5 separate regions of the Homo sapiens genome follow, and all the other regions are linked to region 1. Evidence: promoter capture Hi-C in 16 types of primary human blood cells and fetal thymus (Javierre and others, 2016). All regions are on one chromosome and are shown on one strand. Each heading gives the region's core, a stretch centred on a gene start or on the middle of the fragment in contact. The rest is flanking DNA. Distances are from core to core; before and after follow the strand shown.

Region 1 (4,475 bases), core at 1,407-3,906:
AAATATACAACCTGCTTCATAAATATATAGTCCATAAACTTAATAAATTCAGAATTATAATTTATCCTCTTCTAAAGGTCCAATCACTATGTAAGAGTAGTTACGTCTCTAAAAAAACCTTTCAGAGAAAGCAATTAGATGACTACATCATCTCCTAGAGCCGAACATAAATCTTCTTAAGACTGAAAAACAAATATTTCAAAGTAAATCTTTAGTACCCTGTTATTTATGGTGCTTTAAAACATTTTAAAAGGATCTTTGAAACAAAGTTTCATTAGTACCCTTCTACAAAGAGCTCTCATATCTTTCATTCTTTTAGCAATTTAAAAGCTACCAAATGTTCATTTCCTCATTAGATTATTGATTCCTAGCCTTTTAACATCTCTATAACAGCTGCTTGACAAATTACCTCACCTTATTCCTCGGGGGGTGAGGACAGCATGATATCCATGAATTCAAAAATGGGACCACAAACTGATGAGTGAAGATGAGCTAATTGCTTCAGATGAGTTAGACACTGCTCTAACAGACTAGGCATTCACATAGCATGATACGATTAAATGCTTACACCCTAAATATTTTCTTTGTCCTTAAATGTACAGAAAAGATCTTTTCTTAAATTGAGTTTTATTTTAAAATATGTGATAGCCTCAGTAGGTCAAGAAGCTTGAACATGTTTGGAATAGTTTCCACCGAAAGCCTCGTCTTCAAAGTACTTATTCTCAACAGTTTGCACAACTTTCAGATTTAACCTTATTTCAACCTAAGAGAGCTGTAAGCCCCCAAAATAGTCTATTAAATAGGACGTTATAATGCCCAAAATTTTATCAAAGAAAAGCCAAAACGATTTTCAAAGATATAATAAAAATATTTCAGAGTAGTATGGTAAAATATTCCTGTCTCTGCCTAGATCCATTCTGTTAGTGTCAAAACAGTGTAAGACACAAAGAAAAGCACACACAAACCGCGATCTTGTAGACCCCTAGAACATAAAATATTGCTTTCCCCCAATAAGAACCACAAAATGGTGTGGAATTAAAGGAGCATTTTAAATGAACAGCTTTTTCCAGCCAAATTACTTAGCAAGTCAACCTCTTTTAGACAGAAGCAATACACTCTTCTCTGAATTCAGAAACAATCTCATAGTAAAACAAACGTGTCAATTCCTTTAAAACAATAAATATCTGTGCTTAGCTTTATAATGTAGGTAATAAAATTTCAAGATCTTTCAATCAGTTTTTTAATTCAATCACCAGCGTCTTTAAATGTCATTTTTGCAACTGCATGACTATGGTGTTCATTCACCTTTTGTAATATAGTCCCATAACAAAAATGTAGACACCCAAGAAACCACACAGTTTTGGCATGATGGTGCTGACTATCCGAAACATTCCACTTGTTTCTTTCGACGTGCTCCTTCTGTGACCTGAAAGCTCTGGTTCCTACTAGCACCTTGGTGAGCTAGCTGGCTGGTTCCCCAGCTATAATATCATGTTTGATCTCTCCTGCCTGGAGAGGCGATAGCGTTGATTTTGTTTTTAAAGTTGGTGTCAGAGCAGCTACAAACTTTTTTCAGCATCCCTGCCTGGCTGCCAACTGGAGCTCTCTGTTCACTTCCTCACCAACTTGAACCACCCCCAAACTGAGAGTAAGCTGGAGTTAGACAGCGGCAGGAACTGACACACTTTCAAGAAGGGTTTGACACCGCAGAAAACTTTCACTTCTCCAACCCTTCCACCCAGGGGCTCTGGCCCTTCGCTCTTGCTTCCCCGCTAGAATTCCCCTCTGGGGCAGGACAAGGACACGGACAGCAGATCGTTCGAATGACGCCGAAAGGGACCCCCAAAGCCCTCTCCCCTGGACTCAAGGGCTGTTCTTCACACAAAAGAGCCGGGCCAGCTTGAAAAGCAAAGGGGCCAGCGTCGCGGCCCTTCTCTGGGTGCCACCCTCCACCGCGCCCGCAGACCCTGTCTCCAGCCGCCCGAGCGGTCTCCACTGTAGGCTTCCTACCCCCAACCCGGCCAGACAAAGCCCCGGCAGCAGGGCCGGCACTTCCGAGCCTCCGGACTCGGGACGCCGCGCTCTTACCCTGGCCTCATCCAGAGTGACGCCGGCGCCACCGCTTCCCCCGGCTTTGGCGGCGGGGCAGCTGGCGGCGCGGGTCTTGGAGGAGCGGGTCCGAGAGGAGATGAAATGGCTGCTGCCTCCGGTCGCCCCAGGCTCTGCTCCGGCCCCAGGCCCAGGCCCGGGACCAGGAGACTTGGACCCGAGAAGGCGGAGAGAGCTCTTCCGGGTGTTCACCATGGTCCAGCCAGGGGGACGGAGTCCACGCCGCGCCCGGGAGAGCCGAGCAAGGCCGGCCCGCCGGCCGGTCAGTCAGGGCCAGCGGAGCCGAGCCGGGCAATGAGAGACGAGCCGGCCCGGAGCGTGCGGAGCGCAGACGAGCACAAGAGAGAGCCGGGCAGAGGAAGGGAAGTCGGCGTGAGCAGGCGGCGTGCGGGAAGCGGGGGCGGTGCTGCAGACCGGCAGCACAGACACTCCGCCGGCTTCGCCCTCCTCAGCGGGAGCCGAGCGGAGCCGCCATTTCTACCCCTTTCTCTCCCGTTCTCGCTCTCGAGCTCCGTGCGTCAAGGCTCCAGCGCCGCAGGGCCAACGAGACCGCTTCCGGCCGCAGCCACGGCGGGGCGCTGCGAAGCCGGCCAGCCCTTCCCGGCTGCTCGCTCCTCTCCCTGCCGCCTCCAGCTGCCCCGCCCCCGGCGCGGCGTCAGCGCTCGGCGGCCGGGGAGCGACGCTCTAGGCTGTCAGCTCGGTGGTTTCCAGCTCTCCCCGACCGCAGGGCTGGGGCGACCAGAAAAGCCAGACTAATCAGGACGAGTTCGGGCGTGGAATTGGGCCTGAAGCCCTCATGCCCAGCCAGGCCTGAATGCCCCAGACCCCACCGTCACCCCCGTGGCCTGGATGGAGCAGGGGACGGCCGGCGAAGGCGCGGGGTGGAAGGGGAGCGGCGACGAAGGCGCGAGGAGCTGACTGGGAATCCCCAAGCTACCCGAGGCAAGACACTGAACTTGAGTCGCACTTTTCATGCCTGTAGAAATGAGAATGACAGCTGTGATAAAAAAAAAATTCATCTGGGCGGTATCTGGAACTTGGTAAGCTTAAGAAGAGAAGGGGGGGGGGAAACACCATGCTAGAACTCTGCGTTTTTAAACAAAGCGAGGCAGGGTCGTTTTCTATCCCCTTAGCCAGATCTAAGGCGGAGCCAAAGAATGAGTACCCTGTAAGAGCCGCCTCTATCGCCGCCCCCTGCCCCCGGCCCGCTGAAGAATTAAGAATACAAAAAGCTGAACCCACAGATAAAGCATTTGCAATTTAACTTCCAAAGAAAAAAAAATTAAGCCACACAATTCATATGAAAAGCTCTGCTGTAGGCCGGGTGCGGTGGCTCAAGCCTGTAATCCCAGTACTTTGGGAGGCCGGGGTGGGTGGATCACCTGAGGTCAAGAGTTCTAGATCAGCCTTACCAACATGGTGAAACCCTGTCTCCACTAAAAATACAAAAAATCGATGGGTGTTGTGGTGGGCACCTGTAATCCCAGCTGCTCGGGAAGCTGAGGCATGAGAACCACTTGAACCCAGAAGATGGAGGTTGCAGTGAGCCGAAATCACGCCACTGCACTCCAGCCTGGATGACAGAGCCAGACCCTGTCTCAGAAAAAAAAAAAAGAAGAAAGAGAGAGAGAAAGGAAGAAAGAAAGGAAAGAAAGAAAGAAAAAGAAAGAAAGAAAAGCTCTGCTGTAAAGTAGGAATTAGGTTCATTTCAAAAATTCACAGTACAGGCCGGGCTTACGCCTGTAATCCCAGCACTTTGGGAGGCCAAGGCGGGCGGATCACTTGAGGTCAGGAGTTCGAGACCAACCTGGCCAACATGGTGAAACCCCCTCTCTACTAAAAATACAAAAAATTAGCCAGGTGTCGTGGTGCATGCCTGTAATCCCAGCTACTTGAGAGGCTGAGGCAGGAGAATCGCTTGAACCCGGGAGGCAGAGATTGCAGTAAGCCAAGATCGTGCCACTGCACTCCAGCCTGGGTGACAGAATGAGACTCCATCTCAAAAAAAAAAAAATAAAATTCACAGTACATTAGACATAGCCTACTGTTTATTGGGCAGGAGTTTATTAAACTGTTTATTAAACTAAGAAAAATTGAAAACTCAGGAAAAGTCCTGAAAATGACCAAATGGCATCAAACTTAGAGCATTCTGGCCATCTAAGCTCCCAATCATTCCAAAAAACTGTACAACACTGGAAATGACAATTTTTTTTGTTTGGGAACCAGTATGGATTCCAGAATAGATAAATCCTTCTGACACAATTTGCATACCACATCCTCTCCTGGACACTTCACCTGCCACTTAGAGTTGATGTCTTAATGGGTGGGATTCCTCATAATGGAACCATACCTGGATTTTCCTGGGT
Region 2 (4,475 bases), core at 1,306-3,805, 240 kb after region 1:
CCTTACCCCTGTTTCTTGCCACTGTGATTTCTGATATCTTCAGAGTCCACAGTGGGAGGGAGGAAAGAGAAATAATGGGTGGGTAGGAAAGTTCTTACCTATTAATTTTATGATGATCTATTTCAGTGTAAGGCATTCTCTGGGCTTGGCAGGGGTTTGAAGCTAGTGGTTTTTCTCATGGGGCACTTCCAAGTGATCTTCAGAGAAAATTCCTATTGCTTGGAATTTCTCACCGGATTTCTTTTCCAGGTGTTTGCTTAGGACTGTCTCTGGCTCTAAGCATCTGATGGAACTGCCACTACTTCATTCTTCACTTAGGAACATAGCCTCTATCACCTAAAGAGATACTGAGACTAAAATTAGATCCATTTCAGTATCTTTGTAGATGCTCATCCTATACCCAAGAGGAGATATACAGTAGGCAGGTGGATGTACCGGTCTGGAGTTCAGGGGAGACTGGGGGTGGAGACAGGTTTTTGAGAGTCATCCTCATATAGATGCTATGTGAAATCATGCAATCACCTGGGGGTGAGTGTCAAAGAGAAGAAGGCCGAGGGTTAGTCCTGCGGAACGCCAAGATTTAGAGGTTGGGGCAAGGAGGCAGAGCTGGTGAAGGAACATTCATGGAGCGAGAGGTTGGTATGGAAGGAAGCAAAGCAGAAGTATGTGCTGCTGCAGAGGCCCAGTAGAGAAAGGGTTTCAGAAAAGAGGGCATGCCCAGCCATGTGGCAATGCTGCTGAGAGGGAGGTAAAATGAGGACTGGGGAGATATAGGCCTAACTGCTGATTTTCATCAGAGAGGTTAAGTGGAGCAGCTGAAATGAAAGCTGATTAGAGTGGGTTCAGGAGAGAATTGGGGTGAGGAAGTGGAGACAGAATAAGCAATGCTTTTGTGGGGTTTTGCTATAAAGTGGCTGGAGAAGGTAAGGTAAGGGAATATTTTTATCAGCGATATTGATATTATAACATGTATGTTTCCTGATGGGAATGCTCCCATAGAGAGGGAGATTTGATGATGCTGGAGAGAGAGGGGGTATAATAGAAGGGCAGAGTCCTTCCACAGGTGAGGAGGCAGCACCCTGGACTCAGGTGGACAGGACACTCTATCCATTGTATGAAGAGGGAAGGCTGAGTACATGGATATAGGTCAAACTAGCTCAGTGGATTTTGCAAAGGAAGATTGTTTCCTTCTGTTTACTCATTTTCTCAAGTGAGATCATCAGCTGATCGCGAGGCACAGAATAGAGAATTTAGAGGTTTGAAGAGAAAAGGGAAGAAAGGAACCTAGTATTTTCTAAATCACAACAATCCAAGTGGAAATTAGTACTCCAAACATGTTGACATCTGAAAGCTGAGACCACAGGGGTTCCCTCAAATCATGTCACACATCAGTGATCCACCCCATCTATTTGACCATGTCCCTGAATCTCTCAGTGCTTCTGACTCCAGACAGCGCGAGGAAAGGCTGAGGCAGGAGGCCTAGGTGGAGACCCTGCCTGAGAGATGAGTCACTCGGCTCTGGCAGGACAGGCTTCAGGGGGATCAGCTCAGCTTAGCTGGGGAACGCTTTCTGCTCTCGTAAGCCCCTCATCCCCATACCACACTCAACTCTTCCCTTTTGTCACCTTCAAAAGGTTTCAGCAACCAAGGAGCACACACCCTGATCCTTGATTGGTGAAAGGATACACAAAATCAGGCTGCTTCAGAGGAAGTCATCTGCTCACAGGAATCAGGGTGAAGGCCAAGGACGGCACTCAAGAATTGTCCTGTCTCTAAAAAAAAAGCATCTGCAACGAACTTCCTTTAATTTTTGAGTTCAGTGTCTGTGATAATTAAGAAATGGCAATACCATGTATTTTCCCCAGAAGTTAAGAAATATTGCTGAACGAACCAATAAAAATAATTACAGCTCCCTCACTAAGTGTCCATCTCTGTATATTTGGCTTGTTCCTCAATTAAGGTATGCTCCCTTTGGTCATGCACACTTCATGGCCACATCCACATATCCTCCCCAGGTTTTCCCAACATTCTTTAGAAAATTTAAAAATTCATTTGGGGTTGGCCAGGTGAGGTGGGTCATGCCTGTAATCCCAGCACTTTGGGGAGGCTGAGGCATGTTGCCCAGGCTGATCTCGAACTCCTGGGCTCAAGCGATCCACCCGCCTCGGCCTCCATCTGAACACCTGTCTTGAGGTCAGGAGTTCGAGACCAACCTGGCCAACGTGGCAAAACCCTGTCTCCACTAAAAATACAAAAATTAGCCAGGTGTGATGGCACATACCTGTAATCCCAGCTACTTGGGAGGCTGAGGCATGAGAATTGCTTGAACCCTGGAGGTGGAGGCTGTAGTGAGCCGAGATTGCACCACTGCACTCTAGCCTGGGTGACAGGGCAAGACTCCATCTTAAAAAAAAAAAAATTCATTTAGGGTATAATTACTCACTTGCTGATTCTAAACATTGCCCTCTGGCTCATGTTGAGTTTGAATCTTGGTCACAGGAAGACACAGTAGGACACAGAGCATAGAAGAGTGGAATTCTGTTTTCCTTAGGCAAAGGGACACCATGGTAACCTTTTCAAAAGACTTGGGGGAGTCTGACTTCTTCAGTTCTGTCTGTTCCCCAAATATATATAATTCCAAGATCCCCCTCTTTCCTAGTCAATGCCCTAGATTTCATATAAAAGACTGGCAGCAATGTTAATCCATCTGGAATTGCAATTCAGCAACCTACAGGATCAATTTATGAACTTGAGGGCCACAGATGGAATAAGATTTATTAAAAATAGTGGCCCTATATTTTAATGCCTTGCACATTCTGGCATCTGAGCTTTATATTATCTTGCTTTAAATTATCCATTTTTCTCTCATTCCATATTCCTCATCCTCTTTAAATTATTCTACCCTGACAGTTATCTAGTCTCCCAACATCTCACCCCTAATCAATATATGGTTCTAAGTGAAACTAGATTTTCTTTCTTTCTTTCTTTTTTTTTTTTTTTGAAACAGGGTCTCGTTCTGTTGCCCAGGCTGGAGTGCAGTGGCATGATCATGGCTCACTGCAGGCTGGACCTCCCAGGTTCAAGCAATTCTCCGCCTTTCAGCCTCCCGAGTAGCTACGACTACAGGTGTACGCCATCATGCCTGGCTAATTTTTTGTATTTTTTGTAGAGATGAGGTCTCACCATGTTGCCCAGGCTGATCTTGAACTCCTGGGCTCAAGCGATCCACCCGCCTCAGCCTCCCAAAGTGCTGGGATTACAAGCATGAGCCACTGCACCTGGCTGAAAACTAGATTTTTAAAACTTTATACTATGCACAATTTCAGAGAATTACAGAAAAAATAATTATAATTGTATAATGAATCCTTATGTTTCTGACATCCAGCTTCAATACTGATTACCTCATGTCCAGTCTTGTTTTGTGTATATGCATACCTACTTCTCAACCCTAACTGGATGACTTTGAAGCAAATCCCAGATGTCGTATCACAAATATAGTTGCTCATTCCACATGGTGAAGAGAAGATGCCTTTCCTTTCCCTGCACTTTGACACGAATACCAATTCCAAATATCTCACATTTCCTCTGAAGCCTTGTACTATTTCTGTATTATTTGAGATCATTTGTATTGCAAGTAACAAGCTAACCAGAGCTAACATAAGCACAAATGGTCCCTGGTGGTCTAGTGGTTGGGATTAAAAAAAAAAATTTCATTGAAAGAGTGCCAAAGCATCTTACAGAACCCTGAGAAAAAACTGAATTCCACAGGAATGGCAGGAACCTTGACAGCACTGGCCCCTGAGCAGCAGGCATCTCAGACCCTTCTAGGCTGTTGTCATGAACGTGACTCACAACACCTTTCCAAGTCTCTGTTTTGGTTAGACGTCTATAATCCTAGAAGAAAGACAGGAGAATCTGATCCTAGACTTGGGTCAGGTGTACACTCCTTGACCAATTAGCCACAGAGAAGAACAGGGAGGTGCTGCCATCGAGTCCACCTCTGGCCAGGTGAAGTGGCTCACGCCTGTAATCCCAGCACTTTGGGAGGCCGAGGAGGGTGGATCACCTGAGGTTAGGAGTTTGAGACCAGCCTGACCAAAATGGCAAAAGCCCATCTCTACTAAAAATACAAAAATTAGCTGGGCATGGTAGGGGGGCACCTGCAAGCCTAGCTACTCAGAAAAGCTGAGGCGGGAGAATCGCTTGAACCCAGGACGGGGAGGCTGCAGTAAGCCAAGATTGCGCCACTGCACTCCAGCCTGGGCAATAGAGCAAGAGACGCCATCTCAAAAAAAAAAAAAAAAAGTCTACCTCTGTGAGTGGAGTCAGGGATTTGCCAGAGATGGGACCACGCAGGCATCTCTAATCCACCATGTGGAGCAAGGAGGCCAGGAATCACTGAAGAAAGCTGAGCCCAAAAAGACAGGCAGGAATCTTACAGGTCATGCTAAAGCGTTTGGAATTTATGGGGAGAC
Region 3 (4,475 bases), core at 1,374-3,873, 200 kb after region 1:
AATGAATTTAACTTTATGAAGCTGCCAAACTAGTTTCCAAAGTCATTGAATTATTTTACATTCCCACTAGTAGTGTGTGAGAGTTCCAGTTGTTTCATAATCTAGCCAACATTTGGAATAGTTTTATTTATACTGATTTATTGTATGGCCTTTTTAACTCAAGACATTTTAAAAAGATGTATAGTGACATCTCATTGTGGTTTTAATTTGCATTTCCTTAATGACTGATTATGAGCATCTTTTCAAGTCTTACTTGCCATTTATCTATCTTCTTTGGCAAAGTGTTTGTTCAAATCTTTTGCCCACTTTAAAATTGGCAATTTTAAGTTGGGTTGTTTGTATTCTTACTGTTGGACTCTTCCTATTGAGATATAATTTACATGCCATAAGATTCACTACTTTTTTTTTTTTTTTTGAGACAGAGTCTTGCTCTGTCGCCCAGACTGGAACGCAGTGGCGTGATCTCAGCTCACTGCAAACTCTGCCTCCCCGGTTCACGCCATTCTCCTGCCTCAGCCTCCCAAGTAGCTGGGACTACAGGTGCCTGCCACCACACCTGGCTAATTTTTGTTTTTGTATTTTTACAAAAAAAAAGTAGAGAGGGGTTTCACCACGTTAGCCAGGATGGTCTCGATCTCCTGACTTCATGATCTGCCCGCCTCGGCCTCCCAAAGTGCTGGGATTACAGGCGTGAGCCACCGGGCGCCCGGCCAAGATTCACTACTCTAAAGTGTACAATTCAGTGTTTTTTATTTTTTTTTAAATTCAGAATTTTTATTTTCAGTGTTTTTTAGTATATTCACAAATCCGTGCAACTGTCACCACTATCTAATTCCAGAACATTTCATCACCCCCAAAAAGAAACTTCACACCTTTTAGCAGTCACCCCCCATTCCCCTCCCTCTCTGGCTCCTGGCAACACTGATCTACTTCCTGTCTAAACAGATTTGTCTACTCTGGACATTTTATACAAATGGTATCATACAATATGTGGTCCTTAGTGACTGCTTTCACTTAGTATAATGTTTTCAAGGTTTGTCCGTGTCAGAGCATAAGCAGTACTTTATTCCTTTTGATGACCAAATAATATTCCATTGTCTCAGTATCACATTTTGTTTATCCCTTCATCAGTGGATGGACTTTTGGGTTGTTTCTGTTTTTTTGCTGTTATGAATAATGCTGCTATGAACATTTTGTGTAACTTTTTAGGTAACATGATTGCAGTTCTCTTGGGTATGTAACCTAGGAGTGGAATTGTTTGTTGGGTCATATGGTAACTATATGTTTAACTTTTTGAGGAACTGCTGAACTGTTTCCCACAGCAGTGATACCGTTTTAAATTTTCATAGCAATGTATGAAAGTTACAATTTCTCCACTGCTCAGAGTTCATTGAACTTCTTGTATCTGTGGGTTTATAGTTTCTGACAAATCTGGAAAATTTTCAGCCATTATTTCTTTTTTTTTTTTCAGCTGAGTCTCACTCTATCACCCGGGTTGCAGTGCAGTGGCATGATCTCAGCTTACTCCAACCTCCGCCTCCCGGGTTCAAGCAATTCTTGTGCCTAAGCCTCCCGAGTAGCTGGGATTACAGATGTGCACCACCATGCCCAGCTAATTTTTGTATTTTTAGAAGAGTTGAGGTTTCACCATGTTGGCCAAGCTGATCTTGAACTCCTGGCCTCAAGTGATCCGCCTGCCTTGGCCTCCCAAAGTGATGGAATTACGGGCATGAGTCACTGTGCCTGGCCTATTTCTTAAATTATTTTTTCTATTCCCTCCATCTTTTGGGAAATACAACTGTATGTACAATAACCTGCTTGAAATTGTCCTGTAGCTCACTGATATTCTGGTAATTTTCTTCAGTTTTTCCCCCGTGCATTTCATTTTGGAAAGCTGCTGTTGCTATGCTTTTAAGTTCACTAACTTTCTGTAATGTCTAATCTGCTAATAAACCTACCTAGCATATTTTTATCTCAAGTATAATTTGTGTCCCTAGAAGTTTTATCTGGATTCTTTTGTTTCGTTTTTTGTTGGTTTGTTGCTGTTGTTGTTGTTGTTGAGACGGGATCTCTCTATGTAGCCCAGGCTGGTCTTGAACTCCTGGCCTCAAGTGATCCTCCTACCTTGGCCTCCCAAAGCACTGGGATTACAGGTGTGAGCCATCATGCCTGGCCCTTAGCTCTTTTTCAAACATTTTTTTCTGTCTCAACATGTCTAGTCTTCTAGCTTCCCTAACTTATGAACTACAGGAATAATAACTTTTAATGTCCTGGTTTAATAATTATAGTGTCTTTGTCATTTTGGGGGCAGTTTTGGTTAATTTTCCTTCTTATTATTGGTTAAATTTTCCTATTTCTTTGTATACCTGGTGATTATTGGTTAAATTTTCCTATTTCTTTGTATGCCTGATGATTTTTGATTAAATGCAAGACTGTGAATTTTAACCATATTGAGTACTAGATATTTTTGATTTGCTATAAATACTCTTTTTTTTTTAAGTACAAGTGCACAGATTTCCCATAAATATTTTTCATTTTTCCCCTTGGATTCAGTTAAGTTACTTGGACACAGCAGGATTCTTTCAGGTCTTGCCTCCGAGTTTTGCTTGACAGGACCACAGCAGTATCTACCGTAGGGCCAATTTTGTTTCAGTACTGATACAAAACCTCTCCAAATACTCTACTCTATGCACTTCAAACTATGGGAATTTTTTTTTTTTTCCTCTGGCTGATGCTAAAGGGAACAAACACTCCTGGGACTGTGTGACCTCTAGGGATTGATTCCCTAATTCTTGCAGGTGTTTCTTTGCCCATTGTTCCTTTGGGCATGTAGTGTTTACGATCAGCTGAAGACTCAAGGGGACCTCTGCGGTTGACCCTTTGCAGTTCTCCAGAGCTCCATCTTTCTTGTAGCTCTCCTCCCTCTAGTACTCTAACCTATGAACTCCAACTGCTCTGGCCTCTCCAGACTCCCATCCCCACTCCTCAATTCAGGCAGACAGTTGGGCTGTTTGTTTTCTATTTCTCAGGGGCCACTGTTCTTCTTTGCCTGATGTTCGATATCTTGGAAACTGTTGTTTCATCTATTTTATCTTTTTTTTTTTTTTTTAGTTGTTTCAGGTGGGAGAGTAAGTCTGTTTCCTGCTACTCTGTCTTGTTCAAAAGTGAAAGTTCTCATCCAGACATTATTTTTTCAAACAGTTGTTTCCTGCTCCATTCTTTTACTCCTCACTTCTGCAACTCTATCCATTTGCTGAATCGTTTGATATTGTCTCATAGGTCACTATGACTCTGTTTATTATTTTCTAATCTTTATTCTTCCTTTTTTTTCAGATTGGGTAATTTCTAATAGTCTGTCTTCAAGTTCACTGACTATTTTTATGTCATCTCTAATCTGCTACTAACCCATTGAGGTTTGTTTATTTCTCAAATTTAAGAACTGTATTTTCCACTTGGTTTTTTATCATTTCTATTCTCTGCTAAGATTTTCTATTCATTAATTATAAGCATATTTTTAAGCATAGCTATCATAACTGTCCTCAAATCCTTGTCTTCTTTTTTTCAGATTTTCATGTCAATATAATTTTCTTTTTATTTTTCTTATTTTACTTTAAGTTCTGAGATACAAGTGCAGGACGTGCAGGTTTGTTACATAGGTATATATATGCCATGGTGGTTTGCTATCAACCTGTCATCTAGGTTTTAAGCCCTGCATGCATTAGCTGTTTGTCCTAATGCTCACCTCCCCTCACCCCCAGCCCTCGACTGGCCCTGATGTGTGTTGTTCCCCTCCCTGGGTCCATGTGTTCTCATTGTTCAGCTCCCAGTTATGAGTGAGAACATGCGGTGTTTGGTTTTCTGGTTCCTGTGTTAGTTTGCTGAGTATGATGGCTTTCAGCTTCATCTATGTCCCTGCAAAGGACATGATCTCATTCCCTTTTATGGCTGCATAGTATTCCATGGTGTATATGTACATTTTCTTTATCCAGTCTATCATTGATGGGCATTTGGGTTGGTTACATATCTTTGCTATTGTAAATAGTGCTGCAATAAACATACATGTGCAGATGTCTTTATAGTAGAATGATTTATATTCCTTTAGGTACATACCCAGAAATGGGATTGCTGCGTCAAATGGTATTTTTGGTTCTAATATCCTTGAGGAATCGCCACACTGTCTTCCACAATGGTTGAACTAATTTACATTCCCACTAACAGTGTAAAAGTGCTCCTGTTTCTCCACAGCCTCACAAGCATGTATTGTTTCTTGACTTTAATAATCACTATTCTGACTGGCATGAGATGGTATCTCATTATGGTTTTCATTTGCATTGCTCTAATGATCAGTGATGTTGAGATTTTTTTCATGTGTTTGTTGGCCATGTAAATGTCTTCTTTTGAGAAGCATCTGTTCATATCCTTTGCCCACTTTTTGATTTTTTTTTCTTGTAAACTTGTTTGTTTTTTGTAGGTTC
Region 4 (4,475 bases), core at 1,340-3,839, 140 kb after region 1:
TATTTATTATTTTTAAAAAATAGAGATGGGGGAATCTCACTATGTTGCCCAGGCTGGTCTCAAACTCCTGGCCTCAAGCTATCTTCTCTCAGCCTCCCAAAGTGTTGGGATTATGGGTTTAAATCACTGCACTCAGCCAATACGGTTTTCTATCAGTGACGACTTCGAATTGTTTCAAGATTGAGGACGGAGGGGCTGATAACAGGTACTGTTAGTGTTCCTCATAGACCCACTGATACATGTCACATGATGTCATATATATGCTATGAGGCCATGTCATCTTGGCTACATGATCTACCTTTTTTGTCTCCAAGAAATCCTGGCTGTATTCCTTTGCTGAGGGTGGAGGAGCTAATGAAGAAGCAGTGCTTTAGGATGGAGAAAACGAGAGAAAGGAACTGCCTTGCATTTTAGTCACCAAAGTCCCTGTGCTCACCTCTATTGTGAGACTAGACCAGCCAGAGGGTATTTCCTTCAGAATGTCTTGGTTCCTGGCTTTCTTTGATGACTCAAATGCCTACAATAATTTCTCAGAAGTCAGCCTGCATAAAAGACATACGCATATTTTCTGCTGTGACACCAATAAGATAACAAAAGATGGCATCAAGGACTATTTCAGGTGCCCACTATGGGGCATATAAAAGATATTGGTCTAGAGTATTTATAACTGAGGTGGGTCAAAGGAGACACCCACTAAAAGAACTCCCCCAAAGTGCAAACACATACTGGCTAGCACCTGGAGAGGACAGGTGAGGCTCTGCAGGTAAACTGGGAAATGAACCATTTTACTGGAGCTCTTAAAAGATGATGCAGAAAATCATGATGCAGTATGCTAATGAGTCTGGACATTGGCCTATGAGAGCCACTAAAGCTGTTAAACAGAAGAGCAATAATAAGATCAAGGTCACATCAGTTGTTTTCAGACTTTCAGTCAATGAATTCTCTATTCCTACGAATTTTTTTCTTAGAAACTCAAAAATTTAACCCAGATGAAAGTAAAGCAGCTCTGGCACATGTGTGTGCACATATAAACACAGTCATCTGTTGCACTCTTAAAAGCATTTGAAAAATTGAGCTTTGGATGCCTTGCACAGAGGACCGATCATAATTATATCCTCAGCATCTTCGTACAGTACTGTGTGCAGAGTGGGAGTCAGTGTTTGTCCACTGAGTGCAAGTTCTTGTAACTTAATTGCGACAGGATATGGAATTTCCAAACAATTAGAGGGAAGTTTTAAGTCTTAACTTTAGGTCATGAAATTCAGCTAACAGATATATCAATCCAAATGATGGACTGGTCATGACTGCTAATAGAAGGAATTTCTCCTTGTTATTAAAACAACTACACCAGAGGCAAGCTAGCCTGCCACTTAGACAAATCACACTCTAAGTTTTAAAGTCTAATTTCAGTTTTTCTCTTACAAGAAAGTCTTTTAGAAAATTCTTTTTACATTACCTAAAGGCACACCGTGCATTACAAAAACTAATAATGCATTCATAAAAGCATTCAAAAGAAAATTACAGCTGTAGCTCCTTTCTTATCTTCCCACCCTTAGAAATGACTCTACTCTCTTACACTGCTTTCAAAAAACACTCAGATATAATTAAAAGCAGAATTGATGCTCTTTGTACATTGAAGTGATTCAGTGTATGTACCTTCAAATTGATTTTAGGTTCCAATCACACACAAAACAATTAGTCCATGTTTTTCCATTTGGTCCATGCCTAAGCAATAAAAAGCAAATTACGGCTATATTCTCCCAAGCTGCCATGATGATGAATGGGGTAATAACCATACTGTTTCCATGTCATGGGAACTCATGATAATAAGAATGAGCATTAAGTATTTATGGCAAAGATATATTATGAGCTAAGGTCCAATATACCTACAGATACTTAATAACTAAAGGAAAAGTCTACATAAATACAATCTTAGACATGTAACAACCAACGCCACTACCCAAGCAGCTTGCTCTCAAATTTCTACCAATGTGACAATTATTATGTACCCATAATAATTAAAAAACAATTTAAAGAGGCAAATCTAAGTTTCTAACAATGTACTATCATCTAAATGACCATTTCTATAATAGACCTCTGTTCTAAAGACAAGGGTACCCATATTGACACAGGTGTTTTGTTAACTATAAAGCAAGCATTATTCAAATGTAAAGGCTTGGTTAATAACTGGTTGTTATCACACCAGCTTTGTATGTTAGCATTTTATTCATTCAACCAACATCATGAACTTTGGTTTCCTCACCTGCAAAATGCAAATACCTATCTTCACTGAGTTGTTATGAAGATTTCATTATTAATGGACATGCAATAAACAGCAAGTTCCTTTGATGGCTAAGCACTGCACCGGGCCCTGGAGGCATTAAGAATGTAAAGAGATCCTGTTCTCAAGAAACTCAGAATCCCTAGGAGCACCTACAATTCTTGATAAGCTTCAACTGTTTTTTCCTGGTATCAAACAGGAAGGGAAAGTTCAAGAGAAAAGACTGAGGTGTTTCACAAAAAGCTACAAGTTTATTAACATAATGTATTCCAATATGTATCAAAGTTTCAAGCAGGTCATTTTGAACCTCAAATAAGAAATCACAATATTTAGTATTAATTAAAAAGGAAAAAAAGGTGGTAGTTGTCATTCGTGGGATTTAGTCCAAATGAAAATGTAGAAAACATTTATTTTGGTGGATCTGTGTTGATGCCATATTTCTCCTTGAGAAGCTTCAACTGTTCCTCCTTCTTCTTTGTGTCCATCTTCTGAAATGCCTGGAAATGTGGTAAGCACCAAAATTAAATTACCAATCTACAGCCAAATGAATTTCATCAATAGCATTAGCCAAAAAAGAAAGTCATAGTAGACATATATCATCACAGTACAGTTCTACACTAATTCTCTTGAGACGGAGTCTCTCTGTTGCCCAGGCTGGAGTGCAGTGGCGTGATCTTGGCTCACTGCAGGCTCCACCCCCTGGGGTTCACGCCATTCTCCTGCCTCAGCCTCCCGAGTAGCTGGGACTACAGGCGCCCGCCACCACGCCCGGCTAATTTTTTGTATTTTTAGTACAGACGGGGTTTCACCGTGTTAGCCAGGATGGTCTCGATCTCCTGACCTCGTGATCCGCCCACCTCGGCCTCCCAAAATGCTGGGATTACAGGCATGAGCCACCGCGCCCGGCCAGTTCTACACTAATTCTCAAATGAGATCACTACACAATGAGAACTTTGCTATACTTACCCTGTTGGCATTATAGTACAAAACCACAAGGTATCTGTTACAAACATTGAATCCCGATAGGTGATCACATGCATTCTTGGCATCAAAGATGTCCTCATAGACCACATAAGCTGTTCCTCTAGTTTCAGGTGTGTTCCCCCTGGAGAGGTAAGTTAAACTTAATTAAGATATACATTTACCTGAGCATTGATAGTTGACTTACAGAACTGTCTTTTAAACTGGTAACTGTCTTTTAAAAACAGTAAATTGAAATACGTTTTTAGTTAAGTATTTTGAAATCAACCTGAAACCATCAGAGGAAATAAACATGGATAGATATACCGGATAAGCCTGTAATTTCTTGAATTAGGTAATTTTGTTCTTCGTTTTTATCTTAACTAAAATATCCATAGGTCAAGCTGACTGTCACATCAGGAATACTAAGAACACAGCTACTACACAGAACAGCCTCGTGAGTTGTGGGGACTACAGGTGCTCTTGCCACCCTGACTGGCTCTACGTTGTCTTTGTTTTGTTTTGTTTTTGTTTTTGTTTTTGTTTTTTTGAGATAGACTCTCACTCTGTTGCCTAGGCTGGAGTGCAGTGGCACAATCTCAGCTCATTGCAACCTCTGCCTCTCAAGTTCAAGTGATTCTTGTGTCTCAGCCTCCCAAGTAGCTGGGACTGGAGGCATGTGCCACCATGCCCAGCTAATTTTTGTATTTTTAGTAGAGACAGGGTTTCATCATGTTCCCCAGGCTGGTCTTAAACTCCTGACTTCAAGTGATCCGCCTGCCTCAGCCTCCCAAGGTGTTGGAATTACAGGCATGAGCCACCACACCCGGTCTACATTCATTTTTAATACAACTCAAGTGCTAATGCACGATACAGCTGTGTGGCTAGGGAGAAGGGCTAGGCTTCTGCAAAGATGGGAGTGGAAGTGTGCTTGTGGATAGGGTTATCAGTGAGCCAGGGCAGAATGCTGGAAGGTGGCTGGAAGTGGAAGCTAACCTTACTTATGGATACGAGGTTGCTGTTAGTGTAGTTATTCCTGGCCACTTCCTTCCTTCACCTCACCAACTTCCTCTGGGAGAGGTAGAGAAGTTTGAGGAGCAACGCAACGCTAAATTGCAGGCAGCAGGTGGCCATGTGACTGTTAGTGGAGACAATGGGTAGAGGTCCCACTCAGTTCAGGCTCTGGGTGACAAGATGGCCCCCTTGCCTCCATCTGTGTTCCAACCACCCAGTG
Region 5 (4,475 bases), core at 1,346-3,845, 140 kb before region 1:
GATTTTTGTTACCCAGCCCAAATCAAACAGGAAACTGCAAATAAAAAAAGGGAGAAAGTCACCAGTATGGAAAGATAGACCAACCATGACACTGTGAAAATATGGATTAGAATCAAAGACATCATATTCCTGCCCAAATTTAGCCACACATTTGTGGTAAAATTTGAATAATTCATTCAGTTTGTCATTTCTAACCACTTACTGGATTAAACCTATGAAATGAACCCTTAAAAATTCCATAAATATGATATCATTCTACCTTCATAACAATGAGGTAAGTATTATTTCCTCATTTTACAGATGGGGAAACTGGGGCTTAGAAAGATTTAAGTAATTGGCTTAAGGTAATAAAGTGAATAAAGAAGACTAAATTATATAAACTGTCAATGCCTTTTCCAGCTCTGAAATTCTAAGAGAAGAAGAAACAATGAAAGGTAAACATCAGAATTCAAAAACTGGATGGGGAATTATTTATCTCAACCTAAAGTCAAATCATTTAAAAGTTCATAAAATTTCACCTTGTGTCGTTCCAGTGCTTTTGTAGACTACCTTCATGCACAGTTCCCTCCAACCCTTTAATCAATGCTTTGATGGCCTTTCTTTGAAAGTTCTGGAAGTAAATTTACTACTGAACATGCTTTGTATGTCAAACATCATGCCAGACACTGCAGTTATAAAACTGAAGAAAATGTCTTTGTTCTCTGCTGTCAAAGATTTTAGAGTATCAGAAGAAAAGCATTATGATACTATGCTGGGAGTACTGTAACAGAGGTAGCAAAACAGAGCAGAGACCTTGCAAGGGGTGAAAAGACACTAGGTAAGATGTACCAGAAATCACTTATATCAATTGGGTCTTGAAAAATAAGTAGAACTTAATATCCTAGACGTACCACGATTTCGTTCAAGAATGGCAAAACATTTCATTTTAACTATTTTCTCTGATAATTTTCAATACTATGTTAACACTTTATGAATACAAAAGCATACCAAGAACAGGCCTACAATAATCCATGGATATTCTTACCAGGTTACTACCAACACCTTAGAATCCAACATTTTATAAGTGGGATAAATTATACTTCTCTAAGTTCACTCCTAACTTTATCTTCTGACAGTCCTAGCCTCAAACTTCATGGTGTACCAAAGACAAGCCTTCCATAATTCCCAGAACAAATCACGCTCTGTTTCACATTGGTTCACACTGGTTGTGATACATAGTATTCACTCATTCCTGACCCCTTCTTTAATGCACCACTCAAGCTGATGCTTTCTGTGTGATGCCTTCCCTAACTTTCCCAGATGCACTTAGGCACACCTTCCAATATTTCTGAAAAAACAGTTCAATAATGTTCAGTAAATTTTTACAGATGTGTAGCCATCACAAGCACATTTTAGAACATTTCCATTACCCCAAAAAGTTTCCTCAGGCCTATCTGCAGTCAATCCCCACTCCCACTCCCATGTCCCAGCCTAACAACCACTGATAATGCTTTCTGTCTCTAGAGAATTGCCTCTTCTAGACATTTTGTATCATACAACTGACAGTCTTTTATGCCTGGCTTCTGTCACTTAAAACTTCAGGTTTTTCCAAGTTGTAGTATGTATTAGTATTTCATTCCATTTATTGCTGAATAGTATTTCATCACATTTTGTTTAGCCATTCACCAATTAAGGAACATTTGGATTGTTTCCACTTTTTGCTAGTATGAGTACAACAACTAGAAACATTCCCATACAAATGTCTTTCTGTGAAAGTATGTTTTCATTTCTTTTGTGTAGATAACTAGGAGTGGAATTGCTGAGTCATACCATAAATTTATGTTTAACTTTGGAAAGTGGCTGCACCATTTTACAATCCCACCAGCAGTATATAAGGACTCCAGTTTCTATATCCTTGCCAATACTTGGTATTCTTTATTTTTGATTACAGCTATTAGGTTGGTGCAAAAGCACTTTTTTTTTTTTTTTGCAGCTTTCAATGGCAAAAAACGCAATTACTCTTGCCCAACCTATATTTTAGTGGGTTGCAGTGGTATTTCATTCCTGAATGACTGATAATGAGCATCTTTTCATACACTTATCATCCATTTACATATACTCTAAGGAACCTCATATAAAAGGAATTATACAAAATTTGTCCTATGACTAAGTTAGCATAATGTCTTCAAGCTTCATCCATGTTACAACATGCATCAAAATTTTCTCCTTTTTAAGGCTAAATAATGTTCCATTGTATATGCTACATTTTGTTTATCCTTTCAACTATCAATGGACACTGAGGATGTTTCCACCTTTTGGTTACTATGAATGATGCTGTTGTGAACATGGGTGTGCAAATACCTGTTCAAGTCCCTGCTTTCAATTCTTTTGAGTAAGTACCTAGAACTTGATTGGCTGGATCATATGGCATTTATATATTTAAGATAATGTCATACTGTTTTCCACAGTGGCTATACAATTTTACATTCCCACCAGCAATGCAAAAAGGTTCTCCTTTTTCCACATCCTCATCAACATTTGTTAATTTCTGTTTTTTTTTAATAACAGCCATCTTTTTTTTTTTTTGAGACGGAGTCTTGCTCTGTCGCCCAGGCTGGAGTGCAGTGGTGCAATCTCGGCTCACTGCAAGCTCCGCCTCCTGGGTTCACGCCATTCTCCTGCCTCAGTCTCCCAAGCAGCGTGCCACCACGCCCAGCCTAATTTTTGTATTTTTAGTAGAGACGGGGTTTCACTACGTTGGCCAGGATGGTCTCGATCTCCTGACCTCGTGATCCACCAGCCTCAGCCTCCCAAAGTGCTGGGATTACAGGCATGAGCTATGGCACCTGGCCAACCTTTTTGTTTTATCGAATTTATTAACACATTCCTTAGAATTGTTAGTCCCCAGTTTTGAAGGTAGGGTTCCTGCAACCTTTGTAATAAGAAAAATTAATGGTTAAGAACTTAAGATCTAAAAAAAAAAAAAAGAACTTAAGATCTCAATAACAAAAGGTGTGAAAAAGAGGTCAGAAATAAACCTAAGAAAGCTTTCATAAATAAAATTTGCTTTGCTCAAAACAAAATAGGATATCAACCCATTAAATAAAAATAGAAATAGTTTACATATCTCAAAATAGTAACTATGTTTACCTACTATCCTATTTCACTTAGGGAAAAAAAACTTGTGGCCGGGCACGGTGGCTCACACCTGTAATCCCAACACTTTGGGAGGCTGAGGTGGGTGGATCACGAAGTCAGGAGATCAAGACCATACTGGCTAACACAGTGAAATCCCTTCTCTACTAAAAATACAAAAAATTAGCTGGGCGTGGTGGCGGGCGCCTTTAGTCCCAGCTACTCCAGGAGGCTTAGGCAGAAGAATGGCGTGAACCCGGGAGGCAGAGCTTGCAGTGAGCCGAGATTGTGCCACTGCACTCCAGCCTGGGCAACAGCGAGAGACTCTGTCTCAAAAAAAAAAAAAAAAAAAAAAAAAAAACTTGAGAAGATTTCCTTCCTCTTAAATTTTAAGAATCACGTAATTGTTTTATTACCAAAATATTAATATTAAAACAGTTCCCTTGTATCTTATGATCATTAATCTGAGTTTTCAATGCCCCTACTTGATTTTTCTAATTGAAGTTACTGATTTTCCCCTCCCAGGTCCTACCATAAACCTAGAGAGACAATGACAAGAAACATTTAAGATAACAAAATGCTATATGTAATCTTACTTTCATCAGCATAGCTGAGGAATATTTCTTTAAAATTCATTTCCAATATACTGAATTATATAATCTTAAACCTGCTCATAATAATTTAATAACAAAGCAGATACTGTGAATGTCTTCAGAAACAGAAATACAATTCTGGCCAAGGTTTACATTCCTTCCTACAAATATCTCTAATTTATTTGCTTCCTCCCTTAAGAGTCTTTTTTCTGTGCTCAACCTTAAATTAACTCTCTTCTCTAATTCTCCATAAATACCTTGCAATTCCCATATATCTCAAATAAAATTCTCCAAGTATCTTCAGAAAGGGTTTATAAAAGTAAATTTACTTACACTACAATTCTGCATGGTTCTCAAGTGGTCAAAAATTTAAAGAAAAAATATTTTAAAAGAAAGAATTATGCAGAAAGCGAGTGAGGCTGGGCAAGGGTTACTTAAATCCTACGTGATGATTCAACTGTTAGTTCCTTTTTTCATGCAGCAAACTTTTACAGAGTAATTCCAATGTGTTAGCACTGTGCTAGGAATGGGAGAAATGATGGCCAGTAACACCTGAAAGTGCTAGTGGTCTAGAGACCAGAGGTGCACAAACTTTTTGGTCTCAGGACCCCAAAAAAGCTTTTATGTATGTGAGCTATATGCATCAATATTTACAGATTTTAAATAAGCCCATTAGATATTAACACTAACATTAAAAGAATAAAACATATATTCTTTTGAAAAATATATTTTTCCAAAATATAGAAAGAACATAAAACACATAAAACA

Evidence for each region. The method cuts DNA at HindIII sites, captures the fragments that hold promoters and counts their contacts. A CHiCAGO score of 5 or more calls a contact.
Region 2: a fragment that was not itself captured here is called in contact with the fragment with the promoter of ATAD2B in region 1 in 2 of 17 cell types (megakaryocytes and M2 macrophages); the score reaches 6.4 in megakaryocytes.
Region 3: a fragment that was not itself captured here is called in contact with the fragment with the promoter of ATAD2B in region 1 in 1 of 17 cell types (naive B cells); the score reaches 5.1 in naive B cells.
Region 4: a fragment that was not itself captured here is called in contact with the fragment with the promoter of ATAD2B in region 1 in 17 of 17 cell types (total CD8 T cells, naive CD4 T cells, megakaryocytes and 14 more); the score reaches 15.7 in total CD8 T cells.
Region 5: a contact is called between a fragment that was not itself captured here and the fragment with the promoter of ATAD2B in region 1, in 1 of 17 cell types (megakaryocytes). The highest score is 6.5, in megakaryocytes.

Annotation. Positions count from the first base shown.
Region 1 is chr2:23,924,467-23,928,941 of GRCh38, forward strand. ATAD2B (ATPase family AAA domain containing 2B) reads right to left here and starts at 2,657. Exons shown (of 28, transcript NM_017552.4): 1 at 2,089-2,657. The coding sequence starts at 2,304. It also overlaps a transcript of UBXN2A not described here. RefSeq lists enhancers at 1,324-1,573, 1,672-2,590, 1,784-1,833, 2,591-3,507, 3,094-3,183 and silencers at 2,314-2,393, 2,594-2,923. The HindIII fragment of the contact is 2,488 bases long and covers 665-3,152 here.
Region 2 is chr2:24,167,722-24,172,196 of GRCh38, forward strand. FAM228B (family with sequence similarity 228 member B) reads left to right here. Exons shown (of 11, transcript NM_001145710.2): 11 at 1,635-1,917. It overlaps LOC105374328 (a long non-coding RNA gene), which reads right to left. Exons shown (of 4, transcript XR_939833.4): 2 at 99-336. Among named protein-coding and RNA genes, the nearest start is that of FAM228A, 5.1 kb to the right of the region's middle. The HindIII fragment of the contact is 5,340 bases long and covers 1-4,475 here.
Region 3 is chr2:24,126,214-24,130,688 of GRCh38, forward strand. All of the region lies in intron 2 of FAM228B (family with sequence similarity 228 member B), which reads left to right. Among named protein-coding and RNA genes, the nearest start is that of FAM228B, 5.0 kb to the left of the region's middle. The HindIII fragment of the contact is 6,726 bases long and covers 1-4,475 here.
Region 4 is chr2:24,065,074-24,069,548 of GRCh38, forward strand. It overlaps SF3B6 (splicing factor 3b subunit 6), which reads right to left. Exons shown (of 4, transcript NM_016047.4): 3 at 3,248-3,386; 4 at 2,513-2,778. The coding sequence ends at 2,689. Among named protein-coding and RNA genes, the nearest start is that of SF3B6, 9.0 kb to the right of the region's middle. The HindIII fragment of the contact is 283 bases long and covers 2,449-2,731 here.
Region 5 is chr2:23,789,516-23,793,990 of GRCh38, forward strand. All of the region lies in intron 19 of ATAD2B (ATPase family AAA domain containing 2B), which reads right to left. Among named protein-coding and RNA genes, the nearest start is that of ATAD2B, 140 kb to the right of the region's middle. The HindIII fragment of the contact is 857 bases long and covers 2,168-3,024 here.